Linked DNA regions of Homo sapiens: region 1 is linked to region 2. The links are contacts of gene promoters, found by promoter capture Hi-C in human tissues and cell types (Jung and others, 2019). All regions are on one chromosome and are shown on one strand. The core of a region is centred on a gene start or on the middle of the fragment in contact, and the rest is flanking DNA. Distances in the headings are between cores, read along the strand shown. Region 1 has its middle 40 kb from the start of PHF21B. Region 2 holds the start of PPARA (peroxisome proliferator activated receptor alpha).

The links. The method cuts DNA at HindIII sites, captures the fragments that hold promoters and counts their contacts. A contact is called where the count stands out against the background at its distance.
Region 1: a contact is called between a fragment that was not itself captured here and the fragment with the promoter of PPARA in region 2, in 1 of the 25 tissues and cell types used here (dorsolateral prefrontal cortex).

The regions. Positions count from the first base shown.
Region 1 is chr22:45,046,890-45,053,524 of GRCh38, reverse strand. No RefSeq gene overlaps it. Among named protein-coding and RNA genes, the nearest start is that of PHF21B, 40 kb to the right of the region's middle. RefSeq lists enhancers at 1-789, 790-1,593, 3,392-3,965. The HindIII fragment of the contact is 3,274 bases long and covers 2,808-6,081 here.
Region 2 is chr22:46,145,654-46,152,481 of GRCh38, reverse strand. It overlaps PPARA (peroxisome proliferator activated receptor alpha), which reads right to left and starts at 1,956. Exons shown (of 9, transcript NM_005036.6): 1 at 1,830-1,956; 2 at 512-594. RefSeq lists an enhancer at 1,216-1,405 and silencers at 1,616-1,735, 1,886-2,495. The HindIII fragment of the contact is 15,597 bases long and covers 1-3,991 here.

The DNA of each region.
Region 1 (6,635 bases), core at 3,195-5,694, 1.1 Mb after region 2:
GATCTGGAGTAAGAACATAGTCTTGAAAGCCAACTTTTTATTTTTATGTTTTGGGCAAGAGAAGGATCTTCTAAAGCTCCCCTTTGTGAAAGGAAAATAAAAACTCAGGACCCCAATTCACTTGGCCAAAAGAAAGAAATTAGGCTGCAAGCTGAGTCATGCAAGAAGCTACCTTTCCTTTTGTTCCTAAGCAGAGAGCTACAGAGAAAAGGTTAAGTATCTCTCCAGGTAGCTAATCCAGTGTTCACCTTATCTTATGTAAAGTGCTGATTTACTGAGTGCCAGGCGAATACATGATTGACTACTCCCCTACCTGCTGCTTTTCCCTTGTAACATGTGGATTCAGTAACTACACCCTCCCTCTTTCTCCTCCAGTTCACTTTTCCCCTTTAAATATGGAAGCCCTCAAAATCATCTTTGGAGAAAGGCACAGACTTCTCTCTGGGGCATGTCCTTAATCTTGGCAAAATAAATTTCTAAATTAATTGAGACCCGTCTCAGATACTTTCTGGTTTACACCTTTATATGCCAAGAATACAGCCTCAGGAGGTCTTGAAGACATGTGCCCAAGGTGGTCAGAGGACAGTTTGGTTTTATACATTCTAGGGAGACAGAAGACATCAATCAACACGTGTGAGAGGAACATTGGTTCAGTCTGGAAAGGCAGGACAACTCGATGCAATGGTGGGAGGGAAGCAGGGAGGGGCTTAGGTAGATAAGAGACAAAAGGTTGCATTCTTTTGAGTTTCTGATGAGCCTCTCCAAAGGAGGCAATCAGATATGCATTTATCTCAGTGAGCAGAGGGGTGACTTTGAATAGAATGGGAGGCAGGTTGACCCTAAGCAGTTCCCAGCTCAACTTTTCCCTTTAGCTTAGTGATCTGGGGCCCCGAGATTTATTTTCCTTTCACAAGCCTGATGGACTGGGCCATGCCGCTTTTCAAGAAGCCATTGGAAGCAAGTATAGAAGCTTCGTCTTCTGTCGGAGAGAAGGGAGGCAGAAGTGTTCTGCCACAGCAGGGAGAGATGAGGGATGAGGCCAGGGTGGTGAGGATGGAATGAGGGTCCCTGAGAAGGGACCCAGCAATGCAGTCCCCTCCCTGGGAGGCCTGGAGGGCACCCCGAAGAGATGGACCTGTGAGTTGCTGCTTGAAGAGGGACCCGCAGCTGACCAAACAGAACAGAAAGACCGAAGAGTATTAGAGGCAGAGAGTGGAATGAACAGAGGCCACAACACAAGGAATCATTGTCCTATTTTCAGAGATCTCTGAGTTAGAGCCTGGGTCTTGGGGGAGGTGACAGAGAGCTGGGGCGGGCCTTACGGGGGGTGGAATCCCACACCCGTCATCCATGCCCGATGCGGCAGGCCCTGTGCCCAGGGCTCGGGTCCTAGGCTGGTCTCTGCTCCGTGCCGCTTCTGTTCTTAAGGGTGGAAAGAAGATGTGAGTGGATAAGCTTGGATGTGCTGCGGGCTCTAAGGTGATGGCCAAAGGACACACAGAGCTCTCCTGCAGGAGGAAAGGCAGAGCCTGGCTTGCAGAAGTGCAGGGTGACCTCCTGAGGAGGTTGAAGGAGGCTGGGCAAGTGCTCAGAAATCTGAAGGTGGTCCCATGAGAAATGGGGTGGACTGACGTGGGAGCCATGACTGCTGCCCAGGGCTTTGCTGTAGACAACCAGATAGAGGACAGGGGAGGGGCTGCTTGGGGGAGAGGGAGTGGGGACTTTTATTTGAACCTGAGATGCCCACTGAGAGTCCAGAGAGGTGACAAGAAGGAGCTGATGGCCACGCACAGTACTCAGGGAGAGATGCGGCTGAAGGGCATTTAGCCCAGGTGAGTCACGTGCTGGGGTGGCCAACCAGAGAGCAGAGGCTCAGGATGGGCAGAGGGGCCACCTGGCCATGGAGCCTGGGAAGGAGGGTGGGGAACAGTGGGAGCCGGGGGCCACGGGAAGAAGGGGGCAGTCCAGGAGTTGAGTGTTGCTGAGGACAGATGGGGACCACGAACATGGTGGCCCTGAGGTTGCGGTGGGACAGTGATGGCCAAAGCCAGGAGGGATGGGTTGGAGTGGGACGGGAGCAGGGGTGGAAAGAGCCAGCACCTGGGCCCCTCTTTATGGGGTGCATTGAAAGCCTTACATTGGGAGAGTAATGACTTACACTGAACTTCTGGAGTGGGCGCCCTGGTAAGAAGTGGAGGGCGTAGGATCCTGAGCGAGGTGGGTGGTGCGTGACCAGAGCCTCGGGAGGTGCCCCATGAAGAGGCCTCAGTCAGGGCTCATAGGGGTGCTTGGCCTCCGCTTACTTACTCTCTCAGCTGCATTCCATGGGGGACACCACCTCCTCACCAAAACACCCTCTTCCAGCACATTCTGTGAGGCCACAGTGCCTGGATTTTCCATGGTACATTCTTGGGCAGGAAGTCTTGGGGTGGGGGGCACAAGTAGAACAAGAGAATGACAATCACGATGAATTATGTGGGCACATGGCACCTTTACGTCCATTATTCTCTTTAACGGGTAGATGGTGCAAATACACTTGTCATCCCTGTTTTACAGGTGAAGAAACTGAGTCACAGAGAAGTTGAGGGACTTTCCCAAAGACACATAGCAGGTGATGGCAGAGGCTTGACTGGAACACAGAGGGGTCCTCTGAGTTCGGGATACTCCTCAGCTGAACTCCTGTGTGAAAGCGCAGGGGCTGCTCTGAATAGGGGAAGGGGACAGAAGCCTCCCTCAAGAACAGGCTTCCATCAGCTCACGGTCGGAGCTGTACCATGTTGAGCAAACCACCTTCTGTTCCAGCAGCTCAATGTGCAATGAACTTTCATTCCACTGCAGCCCAGGCTCAGGGCACAAAGCCACTGTCTCAGGGTGCCAGTTGGCGGGAACATAGGGCTTGTAAACTGTGCACTTCACAGAGAATCTGATGGCTTCTGAAACACACTGATGTCCCAAGTAGAGGCAGCACTGTGCGTTGTGACATGGGAGGAGGCTGTGACACTCACTCACCCCTGGACAGAGCAGTGTTTTTCCATGTGGTCCTCCCCCATGGATAGTCTCTCCTTTATCCTAACGTGCAGGAATCCTCTAAGCTATTGTTTTCCCCTTTGCAATGGACCCCAGCTCCTGCAAATCCAGGAACTAGTTTTTTTCTAGGTGGACAGAGAAAAATGGCACCTAATTAAGATTAGACGTGCTTTTGCCATTCTTTGAAACTTATTCCCCTCTGCAAGTTAATAATCTCTATTGAACACACTTTTCAGGGTGAATAATTCACTCTGGGGGACAGTGGCAGTGTGAACTGTCCCTGATTTACCTTACATGGCTTGGAACTTTGAAAATATCTCCCTTTAACTGTGGAGTTGAAATAGCTCAGAATTCCTATAATAATTGTAATTACAGCTGCTGTTTAGTTAGTCCCAGTGATGTACTAGATACTTCACATCCATGTTCTCAGCTTCCCAGAAAACCCCTGCAAGCTGGGAATTATCGTCCCCACTAGAAAGAGAGAGGGAGAGAGAGATGTATATCTCAGAGAGGTTAAATAACTGACTTAAAGTCACATAGCTGATCAGATCTGACGTAAGATTGGAACCAGATCTGCCTGCCCATGGTTCCTTCATTGCCCATGCTACTCTGACTCAAGGAAGGACCTTAACCTTAATCTTGTCCCCCGCTGCAGGCTCTGCAGGTGAAGACACTCATCCTCAGAGGGGAGGCTGTGGGAGAGTTAAGGATAGCTGAGGAGTTCTCAGAAGCGGGGCAGTGGCTCAGTTTCCTCCTGTGCGGAATGGCAGGTGGAGGAGTGAGGGGTGATGGCAAGTTGGGGACAGGCTAGACCCAGGCGGCCCAGAGATCCATGTAAGGGGCACCGGGGAAAGGCAACGTGCCTGGAGTGGGACAGACTGTTGTCTAGCTCAGCGCAGCAGAAAGAGCAGGATGGCCGGGTGTCGGCCACAGACCTGCATCACACATCCCCTTCAGCTACCTGCTGGTGCCACTAGCCTGGATGTAACGCTTCTTCACAGCTCTTCCACCAGGGCATCCACGGCAGGCTCAGCTCCTCCTGCTGGGTTTTCCAGGTCTCTGTGTTCTGTAGCTAAATCACCCTCCAGCTGTGTGTGTCCGCACAATTTCTGCTGGATTTTAAAAAACAAGCTTTGTGTGTGCACGTGTGCTTGAGCTTGTGTGTGTCTTTAATTCGGTAGATCCAATCTAGAAGGAAGGGCGTCACATCCCCATCCATGGCTTCGGCTCTCGTCTGGCCACTCGGGACGCTCCAAATCTATGACTCCTGCCTCCCGGGTATCCCAAGGGCACCCAAACATCGGAGCCACAACTGGATCCCTCAGCCTCTTGATGAACCTCCTCCCCTGTTCCTGCTGCCTCCCTGAAGGGCCCCATGACTTCCTTTGCCTAAATAACAAAGCTGAAGTCCTTCATCATTCCCCTCACTCAACTCCACACCCAACCAGACAGGAGTCTTGTCTAAAGCTCTCTAATGTCTGTCCCCTTGCCTCTGTCCCTCCACTGAAGCCTCTAGACCAGCCTTCTCCCTCCAAGTCTCAGCCCCAGGAGCCAGAGTGAGCTTGCTAAAGTGCAAATCACAGAAACAAGGTGGAGGTAAGGTAGACAACTGCCACGCCTCCCTCCTCTGGGAGCAGCCTCCTGTGCCTGCATAACCTCGCACTGCCCTCCACTCTGGCCCATCTGTGGGAGGGAAGGATGCACCTGTGGGAGGGAAGGATGTGTGCAGGTGAGCAGGGAGAGAGGCCACGAGGTGCGGACTGCAGCCTCATGGCACAGCAAAAGTGCAAAACACCAAGTGTCCACCATGTGGGAATTGCTAAATCAGGGCTGCAGGGAGAAACTCAATGCCTGGACTAGGTCCTGGAACAGAAAAAGGGCCTTAGTGAGAAAACTGGTGAAACGCAAGCAAAAGATTTCGTTAATAATGATATACCAACGTGCATGTTTAGTTTTGACAAATGTCCCATGGTTATGGCAACATTAGGGGAACTCTGTGCTATATTCACAACATTTCTGTAAATCTAAAATTATTCCAAAATAAGACGTTCATTTTAAAAGAAAATGTGGTTGGTCATGGTGGCTCATGCCTATAATCCCAGCACTTTGGGAGGCCAAGGTGGGAGGATTGCTTGAACCCGGGAGTTCAAGGCCAGGCTGGGCAACATAGGGAGACCCCATCTCTATCAAAAAATACAAAAATTAGCCAGGCATGATGGCATGCACCTGTGGTCCCAGCTACTGGGCAGGTTGAAGATCACTCGAACCTGGGAGGTCAAAGCTGCAGTGACACCTGATTGCTCCACTGCACTCCTGCCTGGGTGACAGTGAGACCCTGTCTCAAAAGAAAAAAGAAAAAAATATATATTATGGTGCATTCGCTAAGTTGAATAAGATGCAAGCTTAAAAAAGCAGATAGTATCTATTTACAAATAGTATCTATTACAGAAAAATATTCCCGATTCTTGATATGTTTATAGACAAAAGCAAGTTACAAGATGGTATATATAGTATAATGTTATGCATGTATGCACGGATATCTATATTTATTCTTTAAAAAATGCTTCCCTGTATATGGAATTGGATTGGTGCTGGTTGTGTTGTTATTGTTTTAATTCTGAAATGATTCATCCCAAACTGAAAACAGCAGTTACCCCCGAGGAATGAGATCTGGAGAAGTCATTTCTTGGGAGGCTCTTTGGTGTCATTTTCATTGGTTATCACTAATATGGGCTGCTTTAATAACTTAGACAAATATTTACAAAAGCAAACTTGATCATCTCACTTCCCTTAAAGTAGTCAGTGGATCCTGCCTTTATTCATCAAAGATTTATTGAATGTCTGCTGTGTCTCAGGCTCGGTGTGAAAGCTGGAAAGTGGCCAGGGCACGGTCACTGAGGTGGAGCCCCTGGGGGAGTCAGAGGTCACAGGCACTTTTGATAGCATCGGAGAAGTCCTCAGATGGGACAGCACAGGCTGCGTGGCCTCCAGGGAATGTCCCAGCTGAGGGGCACTAGGGCCTGGGGGGATAAGGGGGTGGGCACAGCTGACCTGGAAATTGCAGCATAGAGGTAGCAGCAGTTAGCCATGGGGGACAGGCTGTGCTGAAGCCCAGAGGCCAGCGAGACTTGGGGAGAGAGAGACTGCTGGTGTCCAGCGTGGCTGGAGTGACCACTGAGCTGGGCAGTTGGTGAGGAGCAGCTTGGAAGCTCTCAACCTTGAAGCTGAGGAGTCTGAGCCAGGAGGGCCATGCTTATATTTGCTGCTGGATGGTGAATGAGCTGCTGGAGGATGTATGAGTCTGTTCTCGCAACTGCTATAAAGAAATACCTGGGACTGGGTAATTTATAAAGAAAAGAGGTTTAATTGACTGATGGCTCCATAGGTTGTACAGGAAGCATAGCAGCTTCTGCTTCTGGGGTAGCCTCAGGAAACCTAAAATCATGGCGGAAGGTGAAGGGGAAGCAGGCACGGCTCACATGCCTGGAGCAGGGGGAAGGGTCATATCAAATGAATAATTGAATAAATACATCCCCATCCTTGCTGCATATCTTTAACTGGGCAGATTTGAGGCATTTTTATTAGAATTTGAGAGGTGAGGGCTGGTG
Region 2 (6,828 bases), core at 707-3,206:
GTTCCTAGCAAAAGTCACACAATAACTCAGAACTTCAAAGTGAATCCTAGGCCAGGCACGGTGGCTCACGTCTGTAATCCCAGCACTTTGGGAGGAACAGGTGGATCATGAGGTCAGGAGTTCAAGATCAGCCTGGCCAAGATGGTGAAACCCCGCCTCTACTAAAACTACAAAAATTAGCTGGGCATGGTGGCAGGCGCCTGTAATCCCAGCTACTCGGGAGGCTGAGGCAAGAGAATCGCTTGAACCCCAGTGGCAGAGGTTGCTGTGATCTGAGATTAGGCCACTGCACTCCAGCCTGGGCGGCAGAGCGAGACTCCGTCTCAAAAAAAAAAAAAAAAAAAAAAAATGAATCCATGCACATGTATTTTACTTTCAGTCTGAAAACGTATCTAACCTTGCATCACAAAGTAATAACCCCCAGATTGCTGGTCTGTAGTGCAACAGAAGTAAACACTGAAAACACTTAAATATTTCCATCTGGAAACAGTAAATTAAACCTTCTATTTACCTGTGGTGACAGCTTCTCAGTTCTGAGCTTGTCTTGCCACAAACTGTTGAGTCCACAGAGCAGACAGGGCCCTGAGCTTCAGCCTGGCAGTAAGAAGGTGAAGGAGGAAGTGATTACGGTTGTTCTCTGGATGCCCCCCAACTCTTCACCTTGGAAGAGGAAAGTCATGCTGACCCTGCCCCGCAACGACACGGGTGTCGCAGGGTCCTTCCCAGGAAAATCCCGTGTCCTTGCCCTGACCCAGTTCCCCAAGGCACCCTTATCCCAAGGAGGCTGGGAGAGGAGGGGCCTCCCTGGTTTCCTGGCAGGGGTCGGCTGAGGCTGACGTGGGCGTGCAGCCCCGGAGGTCCCACGAAGCCCAGGCCATTGGACAACTGTGGGTTTTTCTTGGAAAGAATCCTGACACTTGGAGCACACTTCCTCTCTTTTAACTTTTAAAAAAGACTTCAGAAAAGCACAGGCGTGCAGTTGTGCCCGGTTGGGGTGCGTGAGGGGGCAGGGCCGACCCTCCTGACTTCCACTGGCACCACCCCGCGCCCCTCCAGCTTCACCCGCACCACGCGGGCCGCGCAGCCCGGGACTCCGGAAAGACCTGGGCGCCCGACCCTCAGCGGCCCCGACCGGGAGCGACGTGGCGCGGCTTCCGCAGAGAAGCCACCCGGCCCAGCGCAGCCTGTCCGGGGTCGCCCCGCCGCGTTGGGGCACAAAGTGGGAACCGTTCCTCAAAGGTGGTCGCAGCTGGAGGAACAAACACGCGCGTCTCCGTCCGACGGCAGAAGCCGGGCGCACCCACCCAGGGTCGGTCTGTCCGGGGCCCGGGTTTCCTCGCCTCGGAGATCCCTGGAGGTCTCGGAAAGCACCTTCTGAGTCGGCGACGCCCCAGCTCCGCTGCGCCGAGGAAAGGGCAAGTCCCGATGTCCCCGCCCGTGGGCCCTCCCTCCGAGGGGACAACCCGAAGACCCAGAGTCGCTGCGGTCCCCAGACCCGACCTCCGCGCAGCGCCAAACCCCAGGGACAGCCGCGGACTCGGGTTCCGGGCAGGCCCCCAGCGCTAGGAGGGAGGCCGAGCTGGGCCCCGAGATCCCTCGCAAGAGTCCTCGGTGTGTGTCCTCGCTCCTCGCCCTCAGGTCCCCAGCCGCGCACCCCGGGCCCCCGGGTCCCCGGGACCCGGAGACCCCGAGACCCCGGGCCCCGCGCATGCGCCGCCCAGCCCCTGCCCCTCCCCCGTCCGCCGCCCTCCGGGTCCCGGGACCTGGGAAGCCCGGACCGCGGACCCCCGCGCGCGTTCCCGCCCGCCCGCCCGCCCGCCCCCGGGCACCTGGGCCGCGGTCCGCCGCCTGCCGGTCCGTGGGGCGAACGCCGAAGGAGGCGGCGCCGGGCAGGGCGCTAGCGGCCGCCTCCGCCCCCGCCGCCCGCTGCCCCCGCCGCGGGGCCGCCGCGTCCACGGCCCATGCCCGGCGCCGCCTCCGCGCGTCCGTGCCAGCCGCGCCCCCGCGACACGCACCGCCCCTCGGCCCGCCCCCTGCCCCGGTCCGCGCGAGCCAGTGTCCCGAGGCCCGACCCGGAAGCCCCGCCCGCCCCGCGCGCCCTCCGGGCCCCGGGCCTCGGCCCCGGGACACACCCCCCGGAGGGCGGCGCCCGATTGGCTGCTCGCGGTGGGCGGGGCCCCGGGAGCGCTCAGCGGCTCCCACCTAGCGCCCCGCGGCCGCTGCAGCCAAGGGAAACTGAGGCCGGAGAGGTGGAGGGACCGTCCAAGGTCACCGATGGGACACCGCTGAGCGTCAGCGCCCCTCCAGCCCGGCGCACCGGGGCGGGGCTGAATTCGAGGCGGGGACGCGCGGCCGCGGGGCGGGTGGAGGTTCCCGCCGGGCGCCCGTGCCACGCTGGCGAGCCCCTCCTGCCTCCTCGATGAGCCCGGCTCTGCTACTCTGTGCGATGAGCCGGTCTAGACCCGGGACCCGGGACCGGGTGCCCTTGAGGCTCAGAAGTGCGTAGGGTGGGAGGCGGCCCGGGAGGGACCTTGTCCCTGGAACCCCAGGATGCAAAATAAGGAGAAGGGGAAGGCGAGCTGGGAGGACAAGGAAACAGGTGGCGGGAGGTGCCAGGGCGGTGTGGTGGGCGGGGGAACGAGGAGGGTGAAGGGCAACGCGGACGGGCTCGGGGAGGCGCCGCCAGCTCCGACCCCACAACCCCACCCCTCTCCAGCGGCCCAAGAGCCATGCCCGCCCCTACTTCATGCGCTGGGGGGTGAGGGGCTGACTTTGTGCCTACGCAAGGCGCTGGGACTCTGCCAGAGCAAGGAGAGGTCGCGGCCCGGTGGCCAATGGCGAGGAGTAGGAGAGCGCCCTGCAAAGCCGCTTTGTTCGGGCCGTGACGCTCGAGCTGCCGGAGCGGAATGCACAAAGCCCCTGGGTGCCGGCACATCAGGGCTCCCCTCCTCGGGAACGCAATGTGTGCTATGCCCGCTCCACTGCCTGCCCTCCGCTGCCAGCTGTGCCTGCCACTGTGCTATTTGTGGCAGCGGGCGCCCAGGAGGACCCACTCCGGAAAGCAAACCCAGATCTCATTAGGCAGGGGAACTGGAGATCAGGCGGGAACTGGCCCTTTCACAAACTTCTCTTAAACTCACCCTTGTTGATTAGCCAGGCACCTATGGTGAACTTTGCCCCACCCTCCAGACACCCACATATCCTTCCCACTGGCACACGGCAACCTCACCTTCTCTTGCACATGTTAGCCAGCAATAGCTATCATTTATGTTGTTTCAGAGTTTATAGGGTGACCTGTACACGTAATATCCTGCATATCTCGTGGGGTGTGCAGGCAGCCACATCCAAGCTTGTCATCCTGTTGTGTTTGGTGAGGGAAGCTGACCCTGGGCTGCCCACGCAGAGCTCAGGGGCTACATCCTCATGAGGACCTCCGGGCTCAAAGACATTACCTGGCATACCCATATCCCAGACTCTCAAGGACCAGGGTCCACACAGGTGTGTGACCCAGATGCACCACCCAGGTCAACCAGGTGTTGAAAGACCTAGTGAACATTCTCATGAACAAGGACAAAGGCTATGTGGGGGTGTGCAGAGTGGTCACGTACACTCAGCAGACATAGGAAAGTGATATTCTTGGGTTTTTTGGGGCTCCCAAGGTTTTAGGGAGAGAAAACTTGTTTTTCATCCATGTGTCCCAGAAATAAGCATTTTCAATCAAATGCTGTCAGCCAGTCTCCCGCAGGCGTCCTGAGGGTAGAAGCAAGTTCAGGACTCTTCTCTTGGGAGTATCCTGGCCAGAAACAGCCCCATATCCATGCTTCCCGGGGGTGGTAGGTTTCTTCTGGGAAACCACGCTCAGATGAGAGAGATGAAGCAATTTTCTGTTGGCCACGAAGACCTTGTCACACACCCAGCATGGGAGCAACTGTCACAAAGGGCACACCCTCACCCCCATTCCCAGCTCCAGGAAGTCTCTCTTTACCTTCTTCAGTGCTGATGAAATGAGGGCCACACGACAGAACAGAAACACCGCTGGCGCAGGGACTGAGTAGAAATCTGTAACTTTGAGGACAAATCAGTGCTCCTGAAAATGTCTCTGAGCACCACCTGAGTTTCCTCTCTGGCGCCTTAGTGACTACTGGGAGCATCTGGTGCATATGGATCTTAGTTCATAGCTACCATTTATGTGGTGACAATGCTGTCTCAGGTCCCTTTTTACATTTTCTGATCCGGAAGATGTTCTGAGGGTAATTATTACTGTGCCCACATTGCAAGATGGAGACTGAGGCACAGAGAAGCCCCATCTGCACTGGGTCCCCCAGGCCAGCGGCAGGGCGCAGGACGGAAGGCAGGTCTGTAAAGCCCACGTCTGCCCTGCTGAGCTGCTCTCTCCTGCAAGTGCTGACCTGCCAGCCAGCCAGAGAAGCCGAGGCTCTCCCACAGCCTCAGGGAAAGAATTGGGAAGCTGGGAATTCAGACGGGAAGGGGTTGCTGGAGGAGGCAACCTGGAGTGATAGGGCTTGGCCGCTCAGTACAGGGCAGCAGTTAGACCCTGAGTGCTGGGAGCAGGTGATGACGGTCATCTGTGTTCAGGGACCCCAGTGCTTTCCCTGACCCTGCCAGGGTGAAGCTTCTCCTATGGGCCTGGGGTCCAGGCTGGAGTCTGTTTGCCAGCCAGGGCCTGCGAAGTTTGCTGCTGGCTTGCCCTCTGCTGATGTGCAAAGCTCTCTGTCAAGGGGGAGTGTGTGCTTCCAGGGTGTCATCCGCCAGGGCAGTGGCCTCTGAGCTCCTGGAAGCGTGCCTGCAGGTCAGGTGGTGGAAGTCCACCGGGGCAGGGGCCGTGGGCTGAGAAAGGGAGGGCTCACTGGCAGCGAGCAGGCGGCTGCTTGGCGACCCAAGGCTGGACCTCGTCGGTGAGGGCCAACCATGGGCATGTCCTTAGTTGCCATCCTGGTACTGACAGCAAAACCCCATGGGTCCAAGGTAACAAAGTATTGTCATACTAGGGGACAGAATCTACAAGAGTCCCACAAGGCAGCTGTGCTTATGCTCATCTTACAGATGAGGAACGAAGGGCCAGGAATGGCAGCATGTGGCCAAGGTCCCCGGCAGGGAGTGAGAACTCTCCCGAGTCCCAGTCCATCAGCACCTGGCCCTGGGTACCCCCGGGGTTCGGTTGTCTGTTGCAGAAGCTGTCTGTTGGCTGATACGGCAGCCTCTGGCAGACTCAGGAGCCCAGGGTCAAGGATCAGATTTCCCTGGTGGCTGCTCCTGGCCCCACAGCTCCAGGGGGGTGGCAGCAGCATGTGCAGAAGCCTGTGGCAGGAGACATTCAAGGGGAGAGAGTGTGGAGATGGCACAAAGCGGGCAGAGCTGGGCAAGGCCCTGGCCAGGCAGGTCTTGCAGCCCAGTGAGGAGTTTAACTTTGGTCCTAAGGGCTGTGGGACACCTGCCATGGAGGGTTGTCAGCAGAGGCATGACTCCATCTGATTAGCACCAAGTGCTGCATGCTACATGTTAACCAGTGGTCACAGCTGAGGTGGTGGGGAGGGGCTTAAGCTGTGCACCCATTCTAGCTTTGCAGGATCTGGAAGCTTCCGCAGGTCCAGAAACTGCTGCTGTCATGACACTGTACCCTTTGAAAATTAACCAGTCCCCAGCTTTGCAGCAGGGCCCATTCGACATGGCTCAGATGTCTGTCTCTGTAGATCTTGAGAAGAACAGGGCAGCCCACCTGCAGCTGCACTGCCTCCCTTCTTTGCCCCTCCAAAGGGACAGGTGTCCACCTCGTCACACAGGATCCAGCTCCAGGGCTAGATCATGGATGTTGTTTATCCAGTCCAGGACATGGACTGGAAGCTGCAGGACCCCTCCCTGTGTCATGCTAGGTGCCGTGGGAGTCTCACTGCAAAGTGTGATGTGTAGATAGACGGATTTTCTTTCTTTACTTTTCTTTTCTTTTTTCTTCTCTTCTCTTCCCTTCCCTTCTCTTCTCTTCTCTTCTCTTCTCTTCTCTTCTCTTCTCTTCTCTTCTCTTCTCTTCTCTTCTCTTCTCTTCTCTTTTTGAGATGGAGTCTTGCTCTGCACTTATGTCCTTGCTGGAGTGCAGTGGTGAGATCTCGGCTCATTGCAACCTCCATCTCCCAGGTTCAAGTGATTCTCCTGACTCATCCTCCTGAGTAGCTGGGATTACAGGCACCTACCACCATACTCGGCTAATTTTTTGTATTTTTCATACAGACAGGGTTTCACCATGTTGACCAGGCTGGTTTCGAACTCCTGACCTCAGGTGATCCGCTCGCCTTGACCTCCTAAAGTGCTGGGATTACAGGCGTGAGCCGCTGCGCCCAACCAGATAGACATATTTGGTCCATAAAGGACAATCTGCTCTGTGTGGAGTTGGATTCTGCAATGATCTGACCCAGTGGTTGGCAGTGAGTGGCACTGCTGCGGCCAGGGAAGACTGCAAGTGCAGAGATGAGGTCTGGCATGACAGCCTGGAAACACACAAGACAGGCAAGCTTACGTGCACAGCACCGTGCCACGTGGGCACTGTCCCCCAACTTTCCCTCATGGAATGAGTGGGTGCCTGGGGTTTGGAGTTCAACAGAATTGGATTCAAATCCTCCTGTACCTTTTCCTCAAACTACAACCTCCAGCCGGTGATGCTATCCGAGCCCCCTCATCTCTAAAATGGGGCAGGGACGCCTTCCTGGATGGGTCCTGGTGTGAGTTTGAGGAGGGAGCACGGGGGTGGTGCAGGGTGGGGCCTGATGAGTGGGTCATATTTGGGACATGGTAACCACCAGCTTGAGGGCTCTGTCA